Regions from separate parts of the Homo sapiens genome. Here all the other regions are linked to region 1. Evidence: promoter capture Hi-C in 16 types of primary human blood cells and fetal thymus (Javierre and others, 2016). All regions are on one chromosome and are shown on one strand. The core of a region is centred on a gene start or on the middle of the fragment in contact, and the rest is flanking DNA. Distances in the headings are between cores, read along the strand shown. Region 1 holds the start of PPP5C (protein phosphatase 5 catalytic subunit). Region 2 holds the start of NOVA2 (NOVA alternative splicing regulator 2). Region 3 holds the start of MYPOP (Myb related transcription factor, partner of profilin). Region 4 holds the start of FKRP (fukutin related protein). Region 5 holds the start of SLC1A5 (solute carrier family 1 member 5). Region 6 holds the start of PGLYRP1 (peptidoglycan recognition protein 1). Region 7 holds the start of AP2S1 (adaptor related protein complex 2 subunit sigma 1).

Region 1 (3,039 bases), core at 74-2,573:
CCAGGGAGGCGGAGGTTGCAGTGAGCCGAGATTGCGCCATTGCACTCTAGCCTGGGCAAAAAGAGCAAAACTCCCGTCTCAAAAAAAAAAAAAAAAAAAAAATTCCAAACTGGTCTTTGTAATGACTCACGGAGACCCTGCATGATCTGGCCTCTGTCCTAATCTCATCTTGTTATTGGTCTCCCCCTAAGTAGCCAAAGCCCCAGCCATGCCAGTACCCTTTCATTCCCCATCCCAGGGCCTTTGCACAGGCTGCTTTACCTCCCTGGAACACTCCTCTCCAGTTCTCCCTCTGTGAGTTTCAGCTTAAACGCCTCCTGCTCAGTAAGGCCTTCCCCCACTACCCTATCTAAAGTAGCCTCCAACCCTTATTCTCTACTTCATCACACTGCTGGTTTGCTTTCAAAGCACTCATCACAATTTAAGTATTTTACTTATTTACATGGTTTTTTTTTGTTTTTTTTTTTTTCATGTCTGGTTCACCTGCAAAATTACAAGCTAAGGACAGGGCCACATCTGTCTCATTCACTGCTATATCCCCAAAGTCAAGCACAGTCCTTGGCACATAACAGGTACTCAATAAATATTTGTTGAATTAATGAATGAATGGGTGCCCCACACTTGACTCTCAATATTCTAAGTGATACTATTCTTAAGGATCCCCACCCTTACTCCCAAGGCCCCCACCATCACATTCCTTTTCCTCGGGTCAGCCCAAATCTCCTACTTCCTTGTTCCCCCCATCTAATGATCCATTCCCCACCCCCACGATTGCCTTCTCTATTGGGGCTGTGCCCCCTCTACCCCCCACTTGGCGGCACCCACCCCAGGACTCCCCATTTGGTAGCGCCATCAATCACTCCCCCACCACATGTCACTGCCTGGTAGCGCCCTCTACAGGCCTCACGTTTGGTAGCGCCCTCATTCCAGTCCCCCTCTCGCCCCACAATTGGTGGCGCCCTCCTCAGTCTCTCCACTGAGTAGCACCCGCTCCGCACGCCACTCCTAGGTATCACTCTCCGAAGCCCCCTATGTCGCTCCTTGGCAGCGCCATCCTGGGCCTCCCCACGCCCGGTCACTTGGTAGTGTCTGCCCCGCGCCCAGGCTGCAGCTCCGCGTTGCTATGGTTCCGCGCGGGCCCGGCACCCCTCAGCCTGGGCCACTGTCCACCCTCCCTGCCAGGCGGGCGCACCTTTGAAGTAGTCATTGGCCTGAGTCTTGAGCTCCTCTGCCCGCTTCAGAGCTCCATCAGCCGGGGGTTCGTCCCGGGGGGGCTCAGCACACTCAGTCCTCTCGCCCTCCGCCATCGCCATGCCGCAAAGCGACCCCTACCCTGGCAACGGCCGCCAGCGGCACCCGGCCGAACCGTCGCGAAGGAGCGCCGGGTGGCCGCCGCCGCTGCCGCACAAGTGTCGTAAAGCGCGGGCCCTGAAGGCGCCCTTCACGCGCCTGCGCAGGTCCCTTTCGCCACAGAGCGCGCGGAGGACAAGGTGACCAGAGGTTCCCCAGACGGTACCCCTGGTAGAGAGAGCCAATAGGGAATGAGAGAAGGGGCGCGCGGGGAAACAGACCTGGTGTGGCCTCTCCTCCCAAAGTTACCGTGTTCCAAGGCTGTAAAAAGTTTCTCGGTTCTGAAAGTGGGATTTCCCCGCTGTCCTCTAGGGTTGGGGGGTGGGTTGTGAATGTCGCTGGCGGGTGTGGCTGTTTTGCAAGGCAGCGCCATGCCCTACGCGGAGCCGGACCCGGGCGTCGAGCCCTATTGTCGACTACCTGTGTGACCTTGAACAAATCTTCCCTTCCTCTCTAGGGTCTCAGTTACCCATCTCTGAAAAATTAGTGGTTTCTCAAGCCAAAAAGGGTCCAACCTTGAGGGTCAGTGTTTGAGTTTTTAACTGAAGGCACTCTGGATTTCAAGTCCTGAGCAAGGCTTAGAAGTGTGTTGCACCATCTCCTTTCTTCCTGTGTTCAGCTTCCCAAATCCTGAATCTTCAAATAAACTCTCCTGTTTGTGTTTTTACAGATTCTCTTGTCTGAGATCACAGCATTGATTGCATGCACTCTGCCTCCCTCCAGTTTACCCTTCACATTTTTTTTTTTTTTTTTTTTTTTTTGAGAGGGAGTCTCCCTCTGTCGCCCAGGCTGGAGTGCAGTGGCGCCATCTAGGCTCACTGCAACCTCCGCCTCCCGGTTTAAGCGATTCTTCTGCCTCAGCCTCCCAAGTAGCTGGGATTACAGGCGCCCGCCACCATGCCCGGCTAATTTTTGTATTTTAGTAGAAACGGGTTTCACCACGTTGGCCAGGCTGGCCTCGAACTGCCGACCTCAAGCTATCCGCCCGCCTCGGCCTCCCAAAGTGCTGGGATTACAGGCGTGAGCCACCGTGCCCGGCCGAGGGATCTTTCTAAGACATGATAAAACCATGGCACACTCTCGCTCCCAGGCTTCCATGGCCCCAGCACCCTTAGGAGAAAACCCAAACTCCTGATTAGGAGACCCTGAATAGTCTTAACCTCAGGCTGAATAGTCTAATATCCAGATTCCACCCCTTTGCCAATCCCCACCCGCCGTACACGCTTCCAGTCTGTCCTTTCTAAGCCCTCATGTAGCACTAAGTCCTGTAAGGCTCTGGATCCCCTCCTGGAAGCACACTCCTAAACCTATCTATCCCACTCCCAAACCTCTTGTTAGTCCAACCCCATCTCTCCTACTGGCCCCCAGCACAACCAACAATCACCCTAAAGGGCAGATATTAGTATCATCTCCATTTTACAGATAAAGACACAGACTTGCAGAGGTGTTTGACGAAGGTCACAACAACATAAGAAGGTGACAGAGCCAGGATCAGGAATCCCATCTAATTCCTATGTCCTTCATTGCCACTCTACTGCCTCTGTAGGTGCCAGAGCCCATCTTGGTGGGTTAGTAAATTTTTCTTTTGTTTGTTCGTATTGTTTGTTTTGGGGTTGGGGGAAAAGGAGCTGCCATAGTGGATTTGAATTCTGGTTTCGAGTCCAGCGGAATCCTTCCTGACACTGTGAC
Region 2 (2,700 bases), core at 176-2,675, 370 kb after region 1:
CAACCCAGGAAGGAAAGATTCCTTGGAGGTTAAGAACCCAGGGAGAAGGAAATTCTTGCATCAAGGAACACAGAATAATAGCAATGATCCATTCCAAAGAAAGGCACCCTAGTTCCAATGACTTTGGGCTCTGAAATTGGACTTGTCCTGCGTTCTCATCCCAGTTTCTCTCTCTCAAGCTGTGTGCCCTTGAAGAAGCCACCCTCAATGTTCCCAGGCCTCCACTTTGTCATCTGAAAACAAATTTTTCTTAATGACATGAGTAGTAATACTGTACAAGGGCCAAGGCTGTTTTGTTCTCTATTGTATCGCAGCATCAGGGACAGTGCCTGGCACTTAGTAGGTAGGCCCTGAGTGCTGTTGTTTGAATGGAGAGCCAGTTGTGCCCCAGGGCAGGTGCTGCAGGCTGCAACTCCAGCTCAGTGAATTCAATCCTCTGAGCCCTTTCAGCATCACGGTGTTGATTCTTCAAAGGATGGATGAAAGATTTGAAGGGGAATTTCCCAGCTGAAAGGATTGAAAAAGAGTGAAGTGAAATTTCTTTCTCTTTCTTTCTTTCTTTTTTTTTTTTTTTTTTGAGACAAGGTTTTGCTCTGTCTCCCAGGCTCGAATCTAGTTGCTTGATCATGGCTGACTGCAGCCTCAAACTCCTGTGCTCAAGAGATCCTCCCACCTCAGACTCCAGAGTACCTGGGGCTACAAGCATGTGCTACCACGCCTGGCTAATTAAAAAAAAAATTTTTTTTTTGTAGAGATGGGGTCTCACAATATTGTTGCCCAGCTCGTCTCAAACTCCTGGGCTCAAGTGATTCTTCCGCCTCGGCCTCCCAAAGTGCTGGGATGACAGGCATGAACCACCGCGCCTAGTCGAAATTTCTTGTCTTGACCAAGTGAAGTCAAAGTAAGCTCCTAAGGCTGTTTCCTCATCTGTAAAATAGGGATAATAAGCGTAACTCACAGAGCTGGTCGCTCTGGGGAGTAAATGCGATAACGTCTGTGACGTGCTTGCTTGGAACCGGACCTGGCACACAGTAAGTGCTCAATAAACGTTCATTCAAGGTGAGGAGTGGGGACGGCTTGGAGGAGCCCGGGGTCCTCCCAGCAGCCTGGGGGAGTCGGGTCCAGCTCTCTGCCGCCGGGAGGGGCGTGGCCAACCCAGAGGGACGTGGTCCAGGCTTCAAGGCTGGACCAATGGGGGCGCCGAAGGGCGTGGCCCTACCCGGCATGGGCGTGACCTCGTTGGGTGGGAGGGGCCAGGCGCTGTGGGAGCCTCCGGGAAGAAGATGCTCGGGCCAGCAGCCACCGCCAGCCCCGTCGCCGCCGCCGCCCGCGCCCGCCGCCCCCCGGGCCCCCACTAGCGGCCGCCTCCGCCTCCCACTCCGGCCACGCTCCTCCGGCCCCCCACCCCGAGCAGGGTCTGGGGGGCTCGGCCCTCTTGCCCCAGGGAGCCAAGAAGAAGCGGGGAGTCCCGTCCCCCCAGTGGCGCGTCCAGTCCCCAGCCTCTGTGGTCCCAGGAGAGACCCCACCTCTCAGTTCTTTCCCGGCCCTATCGGAGACCCCCCTCGGCCCTGCCATCCTGCTCACGGCCGCTCTCCAGGCTCTGTCAGCCCCCCGAGAACCGGCTCCCCCCTACCCCCGCCTTCCCTCTCCGGGGCTCCCCCTCCCCCATCCCTCCACCGCCCCCTCCCCCTCCCACCTCCCCTCCCCTCCCCCTCCCCCGCCCCCCGCCCCCCGCCCCCCCCCACCATGAGGATGATGGCCGCCGGCGCGGTGCACGGCCTCTTCACGGCCTCCGCGGCCCCGCAGCCGCCGCCGCCCCCGCCGCCGCCGCCGCCGCAACCCCAGCCTCCCCAGCAGCCGTCGCCGCCGCCACAGCAGCCGCCGCCGCCGCCGCCGCAGCCGCCGCAGCAGCAGCAGCCGCCGCCCCAGGCCCCCCCCATGGAGCCCGAGGCCCCGGATTCCCGCAAGAGGCCCCTCGAAACGCCCCCCGAGGTGGTCTGCACCAAGCGCAGCAACACGGGAGGTGAGAAAGGGCTGCGGCTCGGGGCGGGGGAGCGGGCAGGGGGCCTCGCCTTTCTCCATCCTTTCCCCCCCTCCCGTGGCAGGTGCAAGGGCTCTGGGGAGGGGAGAGACACCCCTCCCCGAGGCGGGGGACAGAGCGGGGAGTTGAGGAGGGGGCTGGACCCCCTCCTCCTCTCGCTGAGGCCCGGGGCTGGGAGCTTTGTCTGCGAGGAGAGGGGTGGGGGGGAGGGGGTGATAAGTGTCCTTGGGGGGCGCAGAAGATGGGGGGCGTGGGAGCCTCAGGGCAGGTGTCTGTGTGTCCTTGAGGGGTGTGTGATGTGACCCTTTCGGAGCAGGGGTGTTCCCCGAGCTCGCGTGTCCTGGCTGGGGGAGGGGAAGGAGTAGAGGCCTGTGGACCGGGAGCTTCCCAGCCTCCCTCCCTGGGGATGTCCTGAACAAGGGTTGTCCCAGATGGAGGCTTGTGTGGCCCTGGCCGGATCGTGCGTGGGGACAGGCTGGGTAGGTGTGTGGGGTGAAATGGAGGAAATGGTGGGTGTGTAAAGCTAGGTGGGAGAATGTGAGGCTAGGACAGGTGTGTATGTGTGTGCGTGTGTGTGTATGTGTGCCCTCTACAGCCTGGATGTGTGACATTAGGGATCAGGAATATGACAGCATAGGGGGGTGTATGAGAAAGACAGG
Region 3 (2,727 bases), core at 104-2,603, 440 kb after region 1:
GATCATAGCTCACTGCAGCCTGCAACTCCTGGGCTCAAGCGATCCTCCCGCCTCAGCCTCCCAAGTAGCTGGGACTACAGGCATGTATTTTTTTTTTTTTTTTTTTTGAGACGGAGTCTCACTCTGTCGTCCAGGTGGAGTGCAGTGGTGCAATCTCAGCTCACTGCAACCTCTGCCTCCCGGGGTTAAGCGATTCTCGTGCCTCAGCCTCCCGAGTAGCTGGGATTACAGGCATGCACCACCATGCCCAGCTAGTTTTTGTATTTTCAGTAGAGATGGGGTTTCACTGTGTTGGCCAGGCTTGTCTCGAACCCCTGACCTCAGGTAATCCGCCCGCCTTGGCTTCCCAAAGTGCTGGGATTACAGGCGTGAGCTCCACCGCGCCCGGCCCAGGCTACGGATTTTAGCTTTTATGTTCATTGTACCAGGAACTGTGTAAGTGCTCATGTATATTTATTGAGTCGATGAATGAAGCACCAATTGTCGAATGACCTTGAGGACTCCTGCAGGATGCTAACGAACACACTTCTCAGCCGGACTGAGCTCCATCATCCTGCCATGCGGCTCACCCCACCTGCGTTCTGGCTTCATTCCTGTCTCCATGCACTTGCTTAAAGTCGTGCCGGCGTCAGGATCTCCCTTCCTACCAGCCAGGAAGCTCTTCCCTCTTATTTTCCCCGCTCCTCGAGGTAAAGGTGCGCACAGAGGGGCCCCCAAGGCGTGACTGGAAGGCTTGTGGGTCGCTATGGTTACTGCATCCGCCCGGGGCGGGACATCCCCAGGACGCCCAGCCTCTAGGGGTGCGAGGTGGGAAGCTCTGGAGCGGCCCAGCGCAGGGGCGGGCAAGCCAGGAGGCAAAGCGGTTTCCTCACGCCTCCACCCCACCCACACAGTTGTCAAGGAGACAAAGCGCTTCCCTTCAGCGCTGTCTCCCTCCCCTTTGGTTAGAGGGCAGGGTGGGCTGGAAGACTGTCCGAAAGGTTGGGTACTGGCGCGCTCCCAGCATCTCTCCCATCCAAGCTCGCAACGCCTGCGCCGAGACCCGGTACCGGGTACAACCCGAGGCACGCGCATGCGCGCGATGGAGTTTTTGCGCGTGCGCCGTTGTGGCCCCAGGAAGCTGGGGTACCCGCGCGGCGCTAACGTTGCGGCTGCGCAGTTGCGGCCTGCTGGTGGGGCTCGGCGGAGCGCAGTTCTGCGCCTGCGCTGTGCTGGGGTAGGTGGGAATGAAACCCTGGCGGTAAGGGCATTGGGGCCGACTGGCCCTGGGCGCGCCTGCGCCTTGGCATGCGGGGCGGCCGGAGGCGGGGCCGAAAGAGGGGAGGGAGGGAGGCGGGGGGTGGGAACAGGCCGCAGAAGCCCGAGCCCTGACCCACCGGCGGCTGCGGCGGAGCCGGTGAGTGACCCGTGGCCCGACTCGGTCCCCACCCTCCGCGACCTTCGCTCTCCCTGCCGTCCCCCGTAGCCTCCGTTGTCTCCTTGTGATACGGGACCCCCGTTATTTCCAGAGCTCCCCTTAATTTCTGGCAATCCCCAGAGCCCCCACAATCCTCGCAGACCCTGATCCCTAATATTTGATCGTTCCAGCTCTTCCAGTGATACAGGAGCTCCCACCTCACCATTATTCCTGGACATCCCTCTAAGGGCCCTTCTCATATCGGTCTTACAGACGCCCCGTTGCCCCCTAGAGCCCCTAGAGCGCCTCCTCTGCTCCAGATTCCCCCCTTCTTGCTGCATCCCCCCTTCCGCATCTCCTTATCTTCATGCATCTAAGACCCCCCCGAGGCACCCCCATCCTCCCTCCATTTCCTATCCTCCCGTGCCCCCATTCTCTAACTCCTGCAGACACCTCCTCTCCTCGCACTTTTCCTCCTTTCCTTCCATCCCTCCAGACCCTCCCCCAATTTCTATCAACTCTTCAGCGTGGCACTTCGCGCCGCGCGAAGTCCGAGCCAAGCGCTCAGCCGGTGTCAGCTACTCTTAGGCGCTTCCGACTTACCCGGGTGCCCGTCGCCCCCGCCCGCCCCCCGCCCCCACTCCTGCCCCCGGGGACTAAGGAGCTCTCGGCCCGGCGGTCTGGGAGAGGCGGCGGCGGGGGGACCCCGAACCCCAGCCAGCCCCGTGCGCCCTTTGCCCGCAGCGCCGGCGCCCCCCATGCGCCAGACGGCAGGACGGCGGCGTCGGGGGGCGCCATGGCCTCGGCGGCGGCGGGCGAAGCGGAGGAAACCACCCGGTTGCGCAAGCCGCGCTTCTCATTCGAAGAGAACCAGATCCTGATCCGCGAGGTGCGCGCCCACTACCCGCAGCTCTACGGCGCGCAGAGCCGTCGGGTGAGCGTGGCAGAGCGGCGGCGCGTGTGGGACGGCATCGCCGCCAAGATCAACGGTATCACCAGCTGGAAGCGCACGGGCCAGGAGGTGCAGAAGCGCTGGAACGACTTCAAGCGCCGCACCAAGGAGAAGCTCGCTCGCGTGCCGCACTCCACGCAGGGCGCCGGGCCCGCCGCGGAGGACGCTTTCTCCGCGGAAGAGGAGACCATTTTTGCCATCCTGGGGCCAGGTGTGGCGGCGCCGGGGGCAGGTGCTGGGGCGGAGGAGCCCCCTGCGGCCCCCTCTTCACAGCCGCCGCCCCCAAGCGCCTGCCCTCAGCGCTACGTGTTGTCGGAAGACCGCCGGGAGGACCGACGTGCAGGTGAGTGTCTTCAGAGTAGGCTGTGTGCCTGCGCTG
Region 4 (2,903 bases), core at 246-2,745, 400 kb before region 1:
CGTGGTGGCGCATGCCTGTAATCCCAGCTACTTGGGAGGGTGAGGCAGGAGAACGGCTTGAACCGGGGAGGCGGAGGTTGTGGTGAGCCGAGATTGGGCCATTGCATCCCAGCCTGGGCAACAAGAGTTACACTCTGTCTCAAAAAAAAAAAAAAAAAAAAAAATCCCCTCCTTTGTTGGGCTTGGTTCCTAGGGTCACTCGAAGGGGGCTGCTCTATTATCATAGTAACCAGGCCTTGAACTTGCCTGTTTCTCACCTTCCGGAGGAAGGTCCAGGCCCTGTAACCATAGCAACTGCCCCTCAGCAGAGCATCTCCTCTAAATAAAAACACCTGGTTAGTTTGGTGCATGGGCCTCCCACGATGGGAAGGGGAAGACGGTTACCATGGTAATGCCAACTAGGTGGCTATGGGGGAGGGGCTGGGGAAGAGGTGCTTCTCTTAGAGATCAGTGTCCTTGGGGCTGGGGTCCTTTCTACCTGAATGCTAGGTGGGGGGGAGGTTGCCATAGTAATCAATGAGGATAGGAGCAGAAGGACCACCACGGACACTTAGGTTACCTTAGCAACCTTCTCCTGGTGCAGAGTCCTAAGAGGTTTGGGGCTCCATAACCACAAAGGTGGAAGCGAGGGGAAGGCTGCTCCCCACCACCTCGCCCCCACCGCTGGGGAAGGGTTACCATGACAACCAACCTGGCCGGCAATCAGAGAGGATGGGGCCACTGCTGGTCGCCCTTTCTCTCAGAGTAAAAGTAATTGTCCAGGAGAGTGGTGTTTGGGTGTGGAAGGGGTAAGGCTCTTTCTCTGGGGCGAAGTGGGAGGAGGGGGGCAGAAAGCGGCCCCTTCCTCAGTCTCACTCCAGCGAGGGGGACCGTCGCGCGGGGCCTGGGTCTCCCTCGCCCTCCTCGGGGCGCGATCTCCCACCCGCCGGCCCCCGCGCGGGCACGCTACCCTTCGGTGTAGACCCGGGTGGGCGAGGCTCGCGCTCGCCGCCGGCCCCCCTTCCTACTGTCCCCCGCCGGGCGCGCGCGCGGTGGTTGCGGCGGGGGAGGGGGGGGGGTGTTGGCGCGGCCGCGCAGGCGCGCGAGGCACAGCGGGCGCGCAGGCCGGCCCCGGGGCCTCCATGATGGAGGAGCGAGCGGCCGCCGCGGTCGCCGCCGCCGCCTCCTCCTGCCGTCCGCTCGGCTCAGGCGCGGGCCCTGGCCCCACTGGGGCGGCCCCGGTCTCCGCCCCTGCCCCCGGGCCGGGCCCGGCAGGTAAGGGAGGCGGCGGCGGAGGCAGCCCCGGGCCCACGGCGGGCCCGGAGCCCCTGAGCCTGCCGGGGATCCTGCACTTTATCCAGCACGAGTGGGCGCGCTTCGAAGCCGAGAAAGCCCGCTGGGAGGCCGAGCGCGCCGAGTTACAGGTGAGCGCTGTCCCGGGACCCCCGACCCCCAACCCGGCCCGGCCCGGCCCGGCCTCACCCGCTGCCGCCGCCGCCGCCATCTTGGAGCAATGGCCGCCGGGACGGCCGGCGGGGGGGCGGGAGGGGACCGCGACGGTCCCGGAGGGCGAGTGAGGGGCCGTCCGAGGGGTGTCCTGAGGGCACTCCGGGGTGGGACGGGACCGGGACGGCCCGAGGTGGGAGTGGAGGGACCGGGGGTGGGAGGGATCACCGGGACCGGCCGAGAGAAAGGGGCGGAGGGACCACAACCAGCTGGGAGTGGGACTGGGACTGGGACTGAGCACGCTGGCCGCGGGGCTCCTGAGAGAGGCGACTCGAGCCCTGGAGGGGAGGCTAAGAGAACTCGGGAAAGGGTGTGGAGAGGAGCTGGAGGGGTCTGGGAGACCTGAGTGGTCTCCTGTGGGAGTAAGCAGAAGCTTGCCGGGCGCCGAGGGACTCCCGACCCCGACCCCGACCATGGCCCTAGCCAGGTGCAGGTTGGAGGTGGGAGCGTCCAAGGGGGGAACTTGGGACCCGCTGGGAAAGAGCGGGTCCAGATGGGGAACCGGGAGGATTTAGGGAGAGGAAGTCGGGAACCTGGGATCGGTGTGTTTCGGGGCGACTGGACGGTGGGCACGGAAGGAGGGCTGTGTAAGGACCCGAGGGGTGGGAGGAGGGTTTCAAGGGGTCCAGGATGAAGGTGTGTGCCTTCCCCTCTGAGGAGAAACTTTGGGGATCCCGGGCATGTGTGGCTGCACAGTGCAGGGAAGGGTTCTTTGGAGTGGAAGTGTGGACAGAGCAGGGAATGTACCCTAGGAGCCTGGATGGGAGAGCTTAAGAGTGGAAGTTCCACTTTGGGGGTGTGCAGGAGTGGGCGCGATGGCACTGAGATGGCACGTGTGTTGTAGGATGTAGGTAGAGAGCCCTGAACTGGAGTGTGGGGTGTTGGGCATGTCCAGTATGGAGGTGAGGGTCCTGGGATGGTGCCAATGAGGACGAGTTAGGGGTTACCCTGGGGTGATGCTTTAGGGGGGAGAATTTTGTAGAGCCCGAAGGCAACATGAGGAGGCATCTCGGAACGGGGGTAGACTGGGGTTGGGGGGAAGGGGATATGTTTGTGGAAGTCTTGGGAAAAGACCCCGTGGTTTTTGGGGTAGCTTGGGACAGGGATGTTGAATGGAAGAGTCTGAGGAGTTGGGCTAGGGTTTGTGACCTCGTGGAGCGTCAGGTCCATTGGCAGTGACTGGAGGACCATGGAGATGTCCGGATTTGAAGGGATCAGGAATGGCCCGCTGGAAGTCTGAAGATTCTTGGACTGGGTTATTATTAGCAGAAATTGTCATTACCTGCTTGTAGCAGCCCACCTTTCCCCTTCCGATTTGCCGTTTGCTATCTAGTAGGAAGCTGGTACCCAAATAAATAGCTGATGAGAATTGTGTCGGTAGGGATGGGGTGCGGTGGCTCACGCCTGTAATCCCAACA
Region 5 (2,913 bases), core at 353-2,852, 440 kb before region 1:
TTGAACTCCTGGCCTCAAGGGATCCTCCTGCTTTAGCCTCCCAAATACCTGGGACTACAGGTGCATGCCACTGAATCCAGCTTGTTCTTCAGTAATAATAACAATAACAGCAATCGCAGCAGTAGTATTTGACTTTCTTCTGAAGGGCATTTTTGTTAGAAACAAAAGAAGAGAGAAAGAACAAAAAATTTTAAAGCACAAATAAATAACTTTTTTTTTTTTGAGGTGGAGTCTCACTCTGTCACCCAGGCTGGAGTGCAGTGGTGAGATCTCGGCTCTTCGCAACCTCTGCCTCCTGGATTCAAGCAATTCTTCTGCCTCAGCCTCCTGAGTAGCTGGGATTACAGGCATGTGCCACCACACCCAGCTAATTTTTGCATTTTCAGCAGAGACAGGGTTTTGCCATGTTGGCCAGGCTCGTCTGGAACTCCTGACCTCAAGTGATCTGCCCGCATCAACTCCCAAAGTGGTGGGATAACAGGCGTGAGCCACTGCGCCCGGCCGTATTATCTCATTTGAACCCTTGCAACACTCAAGGCGGTATGACTTATTATTATTCCCATTTACACATATGAAGACTGAGCCTCATAGAGGTTGTAAATTACCTGAGGCCTCACAGCTGCTGTAGGAGGAAGCTTCTGACATTACCACTACAATCTTTGAGCAAGCATGAAAGCCTGAAATGTCACAGAACAGGCTAGAGATGGGAAAGGAATGAGGATTTCAACACTGTCAGGTGGAGTAAGGAATCATAATTCATTGTTAACCTCCCAAACGGCCACTAACAGAGAATTTGGGGAGGCAGCAGAGTGGGTGCGGTTAGGGGCTTGGGAGGTGGGCATGCACGTGTCATCCTCTCTAGGTGTGGCCTCAAGGTGAATGACTTCCTCTGCCTCTGGGGTTCAAGCGATTCTCCTGCCTCAGGCTTCCAGTAGCTGGGATTACAGGCACGTGCCACCACACCAGGTAATTTTTGTATTTTTAGTAGAGACGGGTTTCACCATGTTGGCCAGGCTGGTCTCGACCTCCTGACCTCAAGTGATCCGCCCGCTTCACCTCCCAAAGTGGTGGGATTACAGGCTTGAGCCACGGCTCCCTAAATAAATACATCAATTTTATTTAAATCTTACAGCAATCATATGAGACAAAAGCTTTTAACACCTGCACTTTATATTCGAGGAATTAAAGTTCTCAGAGGCGACTAAAGACCAAACTCAGGGCTGAGGAGTTCCAAAGCTGAGTTGAGTTGCAAATGAATCACCGAGGACCACCGGAGCTTTCTAGCGACCCTCGCACCAGGGAACGAACCCCTGTGGTTTAAGGGCTCCAACCCACAACCCAGTTCCTTTGGCGGGAAACAGCACCCTCCCAAGGCCCCGCCCCTTCCTGGCCCCGCCCCGTCGTCTCTGGGCCCGGCTCCTGGAGATGGGTATTATTAATCTGCCTTCTATGGGGGACCTGGCCCATCTCGGGTATCAGCCCCGCCCCTACTCGTCCAGTCTCCGAACGCTCTGCAGCCAATCGGCGCCCGAGGGTCGGTCCCCGCCTTCTCAAGCCCCGCCCCCTACCCTTATCCCTGGCAGCTTCCGCTAAACGGGCTCAGAGCCACGCGGCACGCCCGGGAGGCTTTCTCTGGCTGGTAACCGCTACTCCCGGACACCAGACCACCGCCTTCCGTACACAGGGGCCCGCATCCCACCCTCCCGGACCTAAGAGCCTGGGTCCCCTGTTTCCGGAGGTCCGCTTCCCGGCCCCCAGATTCTGGCATCCCAGCCCTCAGTGTCCAAGACCCAGGCAGCCCGGGTCCCCGCCTCCCGGATCCAGGCGTCCGGGATCTGCGCCACCAGAACCTAGCCTCCTGCAGACCTCCGCCATCTGGGGGCACTCAACCTCCTGGAGCCAAGGGCCCCACGTCCCACCCAGAGAAACTCTCGTATTCCCAGCTCCTAGGGCCAAGGAACCCGGGCGCTCCGAACTCCCAGCTTTCGGACATCTGGCACACGGGGCAGAGCAGAGAAGCCTCAGCGCCCAGCCTGGGGAATTTAAACACTCCAGCTTCCAAGAGCCAAGGAACTTCAGTGCTGTGAACTCACAACTCTAAGGAGCCCTCCAAAGTTCCAGTCTCCAGGTGCTGTTACTCAACTCAGTCCTAGGAACGTCGGGTCCTGGGAAGGAGCCCAAGCGCTCCCAGCCAGCTTCCAGGCGCTAAGAAACCCCGGTGCTTCCCATCATGGTGGCCGATCCTCCTCGAGACTCCAAGGGGCTCGCAGCGGCGGAGCCCACCGCCAACGGGGGCCTGGCGCTGGCCTCCATCGAGGACCAAGGCGCGGCAGCAGGCGGCTACTGCGGTTCCCGGGACCAGGTGCGCCGCTGCCTTCGAGCCAACCTGCTTGTGCTGCTGACAGTGGTGGCCGTGGTGGCCGGCGTGGCGCTGGGACTGGGGGTGTCGGGGGCCGGGGGTGCGCTGGCGTTGGGCCCGGAGCGCTTGAGCGCCTTCGTCTTCCCGGGCGAGCTGCTGCTGCGTCTGCTGCGGATGATCATCTTGCCGCTGGTGGTGTGCAGCTTGATCGGCGGCGCCGCCAGCCTGGACCCCGGCGCGCTCGGCCGTCTGGGCGCCTGGGCGCTGCTCTTTTTCCTGGTCACCACGCTGCTGGCGTCGGCGCTCGGAGTGGGCTTGGCGCTGGCTCTGCAGCCGGGCGCCGCCTCCGCCGCCATCAACGCCTCCGTGGGAGCCGCGGGCAGTGCCGAAAATGCCCCCAGCAAGGAGGTGCTCGATTCGTTCCTGGATCTTGCGAGGTCAGCTCCCGCTCCCCCGGGAGGTGGGGAAGAGTGTTACGGATGGCGGGAGTGGTCACGTGGACAGGACGGGGCTTTGGGGCCCCTGGAGCAGAGACTTCCCTCTAGAGTCTTAGG
Region 6 (3,048 bases), core at 525-3,024, 320 kb after region 1:
GGAGAATGGCTTGAACCCAGGAGGTGGAGGTTTACAGTGAGACAAGATCGTGCCACTGCATTCCAGCCTGAGTGACAGAGCGAGACTCTGACTCAAAAAAAAAAAAAAAAAAGTGATAACACCCACTTCTGGGGTCGGGGTGAGGAGGCTCCAAAACATTACTGGTGAAAAATATGAATTATTAATGGCTTTTTGGGGAAAATGATCTGGTAATATTAATTAAATATGTATACTCATTGACCTAATAACTCTGTGTTTATAATTTACTTATAAATGCACCAGTGCATAGGGATATATGTCTGAAAATATTTTGCGTAGTGTGGAGAAAATACTGGAAAACCTTCAAAAACTAAAAGATCCACAATGCTGAACTGATACTATAGCATATTGTGCAACTATTATAAAGAATAAATTAGAATTAGATGTACTGCCCTGGTGAGATGCCCATGAAATATTAGGTGACAAAAGGTAAATTGATGCACATGGTTTTGATTTTTTTTTTTAATGTCCTTATATAAGTTTGTAGGGAGGAGAATACGGTTTATAACTCTGCAGGCAGAAAGCCTGTAGCCAAACCCTGGCTTCATCACCTCCTGTATGTGATCATCCCCCCGGGCCTCAGTTCCGTCAACTGTAAGAGGGGTTAATAATAACATGGATCTGGCAAGCTTGTCGTTGAGTATATGATAATTTCTGAAAAGTGCTACAGATGCCTGGTGCACAATTCAGTAACAGCATGAGTACAATGTATATGAGAAGGCAGAACACAGAAGATGAAAACACACCACACAGGTCAGGCACGGTGGCTCATGCCTATAGTAATCCCAGCACTCTGGAACACTGGCAGGTGGCTCACCTGAGGTCAGGAGTTCGACACCAGCCAGGCCAACATGGCAAAACCCCGTCTCTACCAAAAATATAAAAATTAGCTGGGCGTGGTGGTGTGCACTTGTAATCCCAGCTACTCAGGAGGCTGAGGCAGGAGAATCACTTGAAGCCAGGAGGCGGAGGTTGCAGTGGCCCAAGATCGCACCATTGCACTCCAGCCTGGGTGACAAGAGCAAAACTCCATCTCAAAAAAAAAAAAAAAAAAAAAGGAAAATATTATTTATAAAATAGAAAATTAAAAAAAAAATTTTAAATACACATTTTTAAAAACCACTTGCAGGCTCTCACACACTGCATATCCAGGATTCACATGCAGGCAGCCTGGCTCTAGACGCGGGGCTCCAGTGCCTCCGGTGTCTCAGCCCGTGACTTCCCTGCTCTCAACCTCAGTTTACTCCACTGTGAAATGGACTTCCAGATACTCACCTCTTGAGTTTGCTGCAAGCGTAAATGGCATCAGGCTTGGACCTGGGGGAAGGAAGTGTTTTTAAAATGGGTAGCTTTGTTACCTCAGTCCTTGCGGGGAGAAGATGTGCCAATGCCCCGGGCCTCTGCGATGTAAGTTCCTGTTGAGTTGTTCAATGTTCCACTGAGAGGAGAGACAAGCAGGACCGGGATCCCGGCCCCGGGTCTTCCAGAAACGGCGGGGCGAAGCGCCCAGGGGCCTGTGCGTCCCTCCCTGCTGAGCGAGGGGGCCTGTCATTGCCGTGGGCGTGACCCAGACCCCAACCACAGTGCATCCCGCCCTGGCCCAGCCAGAGAAGGAAGCTGAGTCTGGGGTCTGCTGGGCCAGCAGGAAGTCCCAGCAGGGTGTGAAGCAAGACTTTCCGGGCCACTCCTGGAATCCCCCAGCAGATAAAGGCGGCCCCTCCACCGGGCGCTCCTAGCGGTCTCCCGGACCCTGCCGCCCTGCCACTATGTCCCGCCGCTCTATGCTGCTTGCCTGGGCTCTCCCCAGCCTCCTTCGACTCGGAGCGGCTCAGGAGACAGAAGACCCGGCCTGCTGCAGCCCCATAGTGCCCCGGAACGAGTGGAAGGCCCTGGCATCAGAGTGCGCCCAGCACCTGAGCCTGCCCTTACGCTATGTGGTGGTATCGCACACGGCGGGCAGCAGCTGCAACACCCCCGCCTCGTGCCAGCAGCAGGCCCGGAATGTGCAGCACTACCACATGAAGACACTGGGCTGGTGCGACGTGGGCTACAAGTGAGTGTGGCAGGGGGGCACGGGCTGGACTGGGGATCCCAGAGGCAAAGGTGTGCAAGTGCCCGCCAGCGGGACCATTTCTAGGCCTGGTGCTGAGGCCACCTGGCTGACACCCTGAGCAGCTTACTGAACCTCACAAGGTCATTTCTTCCTCGGGTCACCACGTGGGCCGGGGCAGGTGCTCACAGCACAAAGATGCGTGAGAAGGGGGGATGGGCTGAAATCCAAGCCCCGCTCCCGCTCCCGGGAAGAAGGGGCAGGCTTTGCCTAACACACACCAAGGTGTCCGCGACGCCTTATGAAGGCGCCCCTTCCTGATGCCTGGTGCCTTTGTTAGGAGGCGGAAAACCAGGCTGACTCAGTGCGGAGCTGGGTTCCAGGGTCAGCTCATCTTATTGCTGGCTGAGGCCTGGGGCGGGTCCTCCCGGCTTCAGCTTCCTCCTCGGCAAAGTCAATGGAATCGCGGCCCATCTGCTCCTTATATGAGCCAATACAGGCAAAGCACCTAGGAACTGCCTGGCACACGGGGGCCCGCAAAGCCACGGGCTATTACCATTAGGCACCTACTATGTGCCAGGCAGTGTGCCAGATGTGGCATGGAGAACGGTGCCACTCTAGCCTCCTGGGGTTGAAAGACCAGCAGGGAGAAACAAGCCAAGGCCACAGGTGAATTCAGACGGTGATAGAGGCGATGGATAAAAGGAAAGAGGTGAGGGAGGGTGACCTCAGGCTGGGACCAGACCCACACAGGCTCCTTGGAAGGGTGGGGCAAGGGAAAGCCTCCCTGAGAGTGGCTGCCTTGGCTCTGGGATGGGGGAGCAGACAGAGGCCTGCAGGTGGCAGGGGGTGCTGGGGGCAAAGCCAACGGGGTTGAGTGGGCGGGTCCTGTGGGAAGGACAGGGTGGCTGAACACAGCCGGGCGAGCGGAATGAAATGAGGAAAGGGCAGGACCAGGC
Region 7 (2,867 bases), core at 89-2,588, 500 kb before region 1:
TCGGGAGGCTGAAGTGGGAGGATCACTTGAGCCCAGCAGGTTGAGGCTTCAGTGAGCTGAGATCATGCCACTGCGCTACAGCCTGGGTGACCAAGGGAGACCCTCTTTCAGAAAAAAGCAAAAACAAAGACACACCAAAAAAACACTAAACTAACTGCTGACCTGGAGGGTTTTTTTTTTTTTTGACAGAGTTTCGCTCTTGTCATTCCAGCTAGGGTGCAATGGTGTGATCTCGGCTCACTGCAACCTCTGCCTCCCAGGTTCAAGCAATTCTCCTGCCTCAGCTTCCCGAGTTGCTGGGATTACAGGCACCTGCCATCACACCCAGCTAATTTTTATATTTTTAGTAGAAATGGTTTCACCGTGTTGGCCATGCTGGTCTCGAAGTCCTGACCTTAGGTGATCCACCCACCTCAGCTTCTCAAAGTGCTGGGATTACAAGCATGGGCCATCATGCCCCCGCCAAACTAGAGATTTTTTTTTTTTTTTGGAGTCTCTCTCTATTGCCCAGGCTGGAGTGCAGTGGCGAGATCTGGGCTCACTGCAACCTCTGCCTCCGGGCTTCAAGTGATTCTCCTGCCTCAGCCTCCCGAGTAGCTGGGACTACAGGTGCGCACCACCATGCCTGGCTAATTTTTTGTATTTTTAGTAGAGATGGGGTTTCGCCATGCTGGCTAGGCTGGTCTCGAACTCCTAACCAAGTGATCTGCCTGCCTCGGACTCCCAAAGTGCTGGGATTACAGGAGTAAGCCACCGCGCCGGGCCGGTTCAAATTTATGCTTTTAAACTGTTGTCTCCCGAGAGACACACGCAACGTATTTTAAGCAAAACACTGGCTTGGTGTTGTGGTGGCTCATGCCTGTAATCCTGGTGATTTGGAAGGCTGAGGGTCGCTTGAAGCTGAGTTCGAGATCAACCTAGGCAATATATCTAGACCCCTGTCTCTATTTTTAAAAAAATTAAAGAAATCACTGGATGAGGAATGGAAAGACATTTTCTATCTCCCCAGGACAGTTTTTTAAAATTTAAAACTACTATTCCCAGCATGCCCTTCTCCCCTGGGTGGGGGGAGGGGACCTAAGAGAACTACATTTCCCTGAATGCAACGCCTTCACCGCTGGTTCTTCAGCATCTCGGGAATTGTAGTCCTCTGTAAAGATGTTTGTCCACAAATCCCAGCATGCACTTGGGATCTGACTCGTTTGGTAGGAAAAGGACTGGCTCTGACTCTTCACCCATCTTCACCCAGGCTGGCCCCTTTGGTGAAACTACAACTCCCAGGGGTCTGTGCGCGAGAAGGCAGGCGGGTTTTTCTACCGGAAGTCCGCTCTAGCTCTGGGCCCTACAACTGCACCCTGAGCCGGAGCTGCCCAGTCGCCGCGGGACCGGGGCCGCTGGGGTCTGGACGGGGGTCGCCATGGTAACGGGGGAGCGCTACGCCGGGGACTGGCGGAGGGGGGGCCCACGCGTAAATAGCCGAGGCTGGATCGGGCGCTGACAAGTCCCTTCTCTGCCGCGGATGGTCTGGGTCAGGCGCGGGCTCTGGGGATTGGGACCGATCCAGGGCCGGGAAGGAGGGCACAGGGCGGTGATTCTGCGCGCGGGGGTTACCAGGGGTCTCGCGGCGACGGGCATTGGGGGTGGTGTTCCAAGGGGAAAGGGCTGTGCAGGTGGGAAACGTTGTAGATGGTTGGAAGCTTTGAAACGAGAGGAAACTCGTGAGACACAGTCTTGTGGGTAGCGAGAAGGCATTGGAGGTGGGGAGAGGGCGTCCGAAAGAGGAAGGCGCTCTGGAAGTGTGGCGGGAGCGCTGGGACGAGAACGCGAGACCTTGGAAAAGGGGAGGGAGGTTTTCTTGATGGGAGGAGTCTCTAGAGACAAGGATCTGATTGCAGGTGGAGAGGGGATGTTGAGACAGGGGCAGGAGACTGCCTGTGAGAGAGGGATGATCTCAAGAAGAGACCTGGCACAGGAAACCAAAAGGAGGCAACTGTAGGGAATGAAACTTAAGGGTCTGGGAAAGCGCTGTAAAAGGAGAGAGGACCTGGAGGTAAGATGGACACTCGGAAAGAATGGGGAGCAACTGAATAGGTCTTTCCAAGAGGAGAGATCTTGTGGGGTGGGGAGTAGGCTTGAAAGTGTGAGACCTGGGGAGGAATCTTTGTTGGGGCAAAGACTCAACATTGGATTTAGGAGTGCCCCTATCCCCCAGGTTGGGGCTTTGGATCTAGGAAAGGGTTCTTTGGGCTGGAAGTTGGGAAAGAAAACGAATGAGAAAGAGTGTCAGAGCGGGGGCGGAGTCTCCTCCAGGAACAGGGTCCTTGGAGGCAAAATGTGACCTTTTGAAGAAGGGAGGAAGCTTGGGAGTGGGACAAGGGATGTCACCAGTAAAAAGCCCATTGAGGCCCCAAGGAGGGGAACTGAGACTGAGAAAGTGGAGGTCAAAAGGGAACAACTCCAGAGGAGGGGGATTGGAGACAGGGAAGGTTGGGGGGCATCTAGAGGGGACAGCAGAGGCGTGAGGATGCAGAGATTCAGGACGGAGGGGACTTGAGATTCCAAATGGGAAGAAAACAGGGAGAGGTATACAAGGGAATTTGGGAGTAAGAGGCAGAGCTTTTTGTCAACTCTGTGGGTTTGCTTCTAGTTCTCCTAACTGTGTGAATATGTCTCCGGCTCTGCTCCCAGGCTGTGGCTGCCTGGTGTAGGCCCCCCAACGTCCCTTCCTGCCTGGGACCCCTGCCCTGCTAGGAAGTGGTTTTCCCTGGCTCAGCAGGAGTTCTTGGAAGGAGAGTGTAACATCCTGTTCCGGTCCAGTTTGGTTGGTTGGGGGAGGGAGGATAGAGTGTGTGGAGAATGAGGCTTAG

What was found. Contacts are between HindIII fragments. The CHiCAGO score rates a contact against its expected background, and 5 or more counts as called.
Region 2: a contact is called between the fragment with the promoter of NOVA2 here and the fragment with the promoter of PPP5C in region 1, in 13 of 17 cell types (M0 macrophages, erythroblasts, neutrophils and 10 more). The highest score is 13.0, in M0 macrophages.
Region 3: a contact is called between the fragment with the promoter of MYPOP here and the fragment with the promoter of PPP5C in region 1, in 5 of 17 cell types (endothelial precursors, total CD4 T cells, erythroblasts and 2 more). The highest score is 7.9, in endothelial precursors.
Region 4: a contact is called between the fragment with the promoter of FKRP here and the fragment with the promoter of PPP5C in region 1, in 4 of 17 cell types (non-activated CD4 T cells, total B cells, naive CD4 T cells and 1 more). The highest score is 7.4, in non-activated CD4 T cells.
Region 5: the fragment with the promoter of SLC1A5 here is called in contact with the fragment with the promoter of PPP5C in region 1 in 1 of 17 cell types (non-activated CD4 T cells); the score reaches 5.8 in non-activated CD4 T cells.
Region 6: a contact is called between the fragment with the promoter of PGLYRP1 here and the fragment with the promoter of PPP5C in region 1, in 5 of 17 cell types (naive CD4 T cells, non-activated CD4 T cells, total CD8 T cells and 2 more). The highest score is 7.7, in naive CD4 T cells.
Region 7: the fragment with the promoter of AP2S1 here is called in contact with the fragment with the promoter of PPP5C in region 1 in 1 of 17 cell types (monocytes); the score reaches 6.2 in monocytes.

Annotation. Positions count from the first base shown.
Region 1 is chr19:46,345,371-46,348,409 of GRCh38, reverse strand. It overlaps PPP5C (protein phosphatase 5 catalytic subunit), which reads right to left and starts at 1,323. Exons shown (of 13, transcript NM_006247.4): 1 at 1,193-1,323. The coding sequence starts at 1,313. RefSeq lists enhancers at 1,076-1,205, 1,306-1,485. The HindIII fragment of the contact is 16,758 bases long and covers 1-3,039 here.
Region 2 is chr19:45,972,590-45,975,289 of GRCh38, reverse strand. NOVA2 (NOVA alternative splicing regulator 2) reads left to right here and starts at 1,425. Exons shown (of 4, transcript NM_002516.4): 1 at 1,425-2,023. The coding sequence starts at 1,939. RefSeq lists a silencer at 1,100-1,259. The HindIII fragment of the contact is 31,968 bases long and covers 1-2,700 here.
Region 3 is chr19:45,901,239-45,903,965 of GRCh38, reverse strand. It overlaps MYPOP (Myb related transcription factor, partner of profilin), which reads left to right and starts at 1,353. Exons shown (of 3, transcript NM_001012643.4): 1 at 1,353-1,396; 2 at 2,141-2,691. The coding sequence starts at 2,193. RefSeq lists silencers at 661-740, 1,301-1,350 and enhancers at 1,001-1,110, 1,541-1,590. The HindIII fragment of the contact is 7,646 bases long and covers 1-2,727 here.
Region 4 is chr19:46,744,649-46,747,551 of GRCh38, reverse strand. FKRP (fukutin related protein) reads right to left here and starts at 1,495. Exons shown (of 4, transcript NM_024301.5): 1 at 1,462-1,495. STRN4 (striatin 4) reads left to right here and starts at 1,102. Exons shown (of 18, transcript NM_013403.3): 1 at 1,102-1,403. The coding sequence starts at 1,122. RefSeq lists silencers at 677-726, 767-866, 907-1,056, 1,067-1,116, 1,327-1,556. The HindIII fragment of the contact is 3,497 bases long and covers 1-1,860 here.
Region 5 is chr19:46,787,283-46,790,195 of GRCh38, reverse strand. SLC1A5 (solute carrier family 1 member 5) reads left to right here and starts at 1,602. Exons shown (of 8, transcript NM_005628.3): 1 at 1,602-2,796. The coding sequence starts at 2,231. RefSeq lists silencers at 1,285-1,444, 2,415-2,464, 2,475-2,524 and enhancers at 1,390-1,684, 1,333-1,934. The HindIII fragment of the contact is 4,388 bases long and covers 1,154-2,913 here.
Region 6 is chr19:46,021,779-46,024,826 of GRCh38, reverse strand. PGLYRP1 (peptidoglycan recognition protein 1) reads left to right here and starts at 1,774. Exons shown (of 3, transcript NM_005091.3): 1 at 1,774-2,092. The coding sequence starts at 1,806. RefSeq lists an enhancer at 2,281-3,048. The HindIII fragment of the contact is 5,413 bases long and covers 671-3,048 here.
Region 7 is chr19:46,849,317-46,852,183 of GRCh38, reverse strand. AP2S1 (adaptor related protein complex 2 subunit sigma 1) reads left to right here and starts at 1,338. Exons shown (of 5, transcript NM_004069.6): 1 at 1,338-1,420. The coding sequence starts at 1,418. RefSeq lists an enhancer at 1,014-1,323. The HindIII fragment of the contact is 13,627 bases long and covers 1-1,699 here.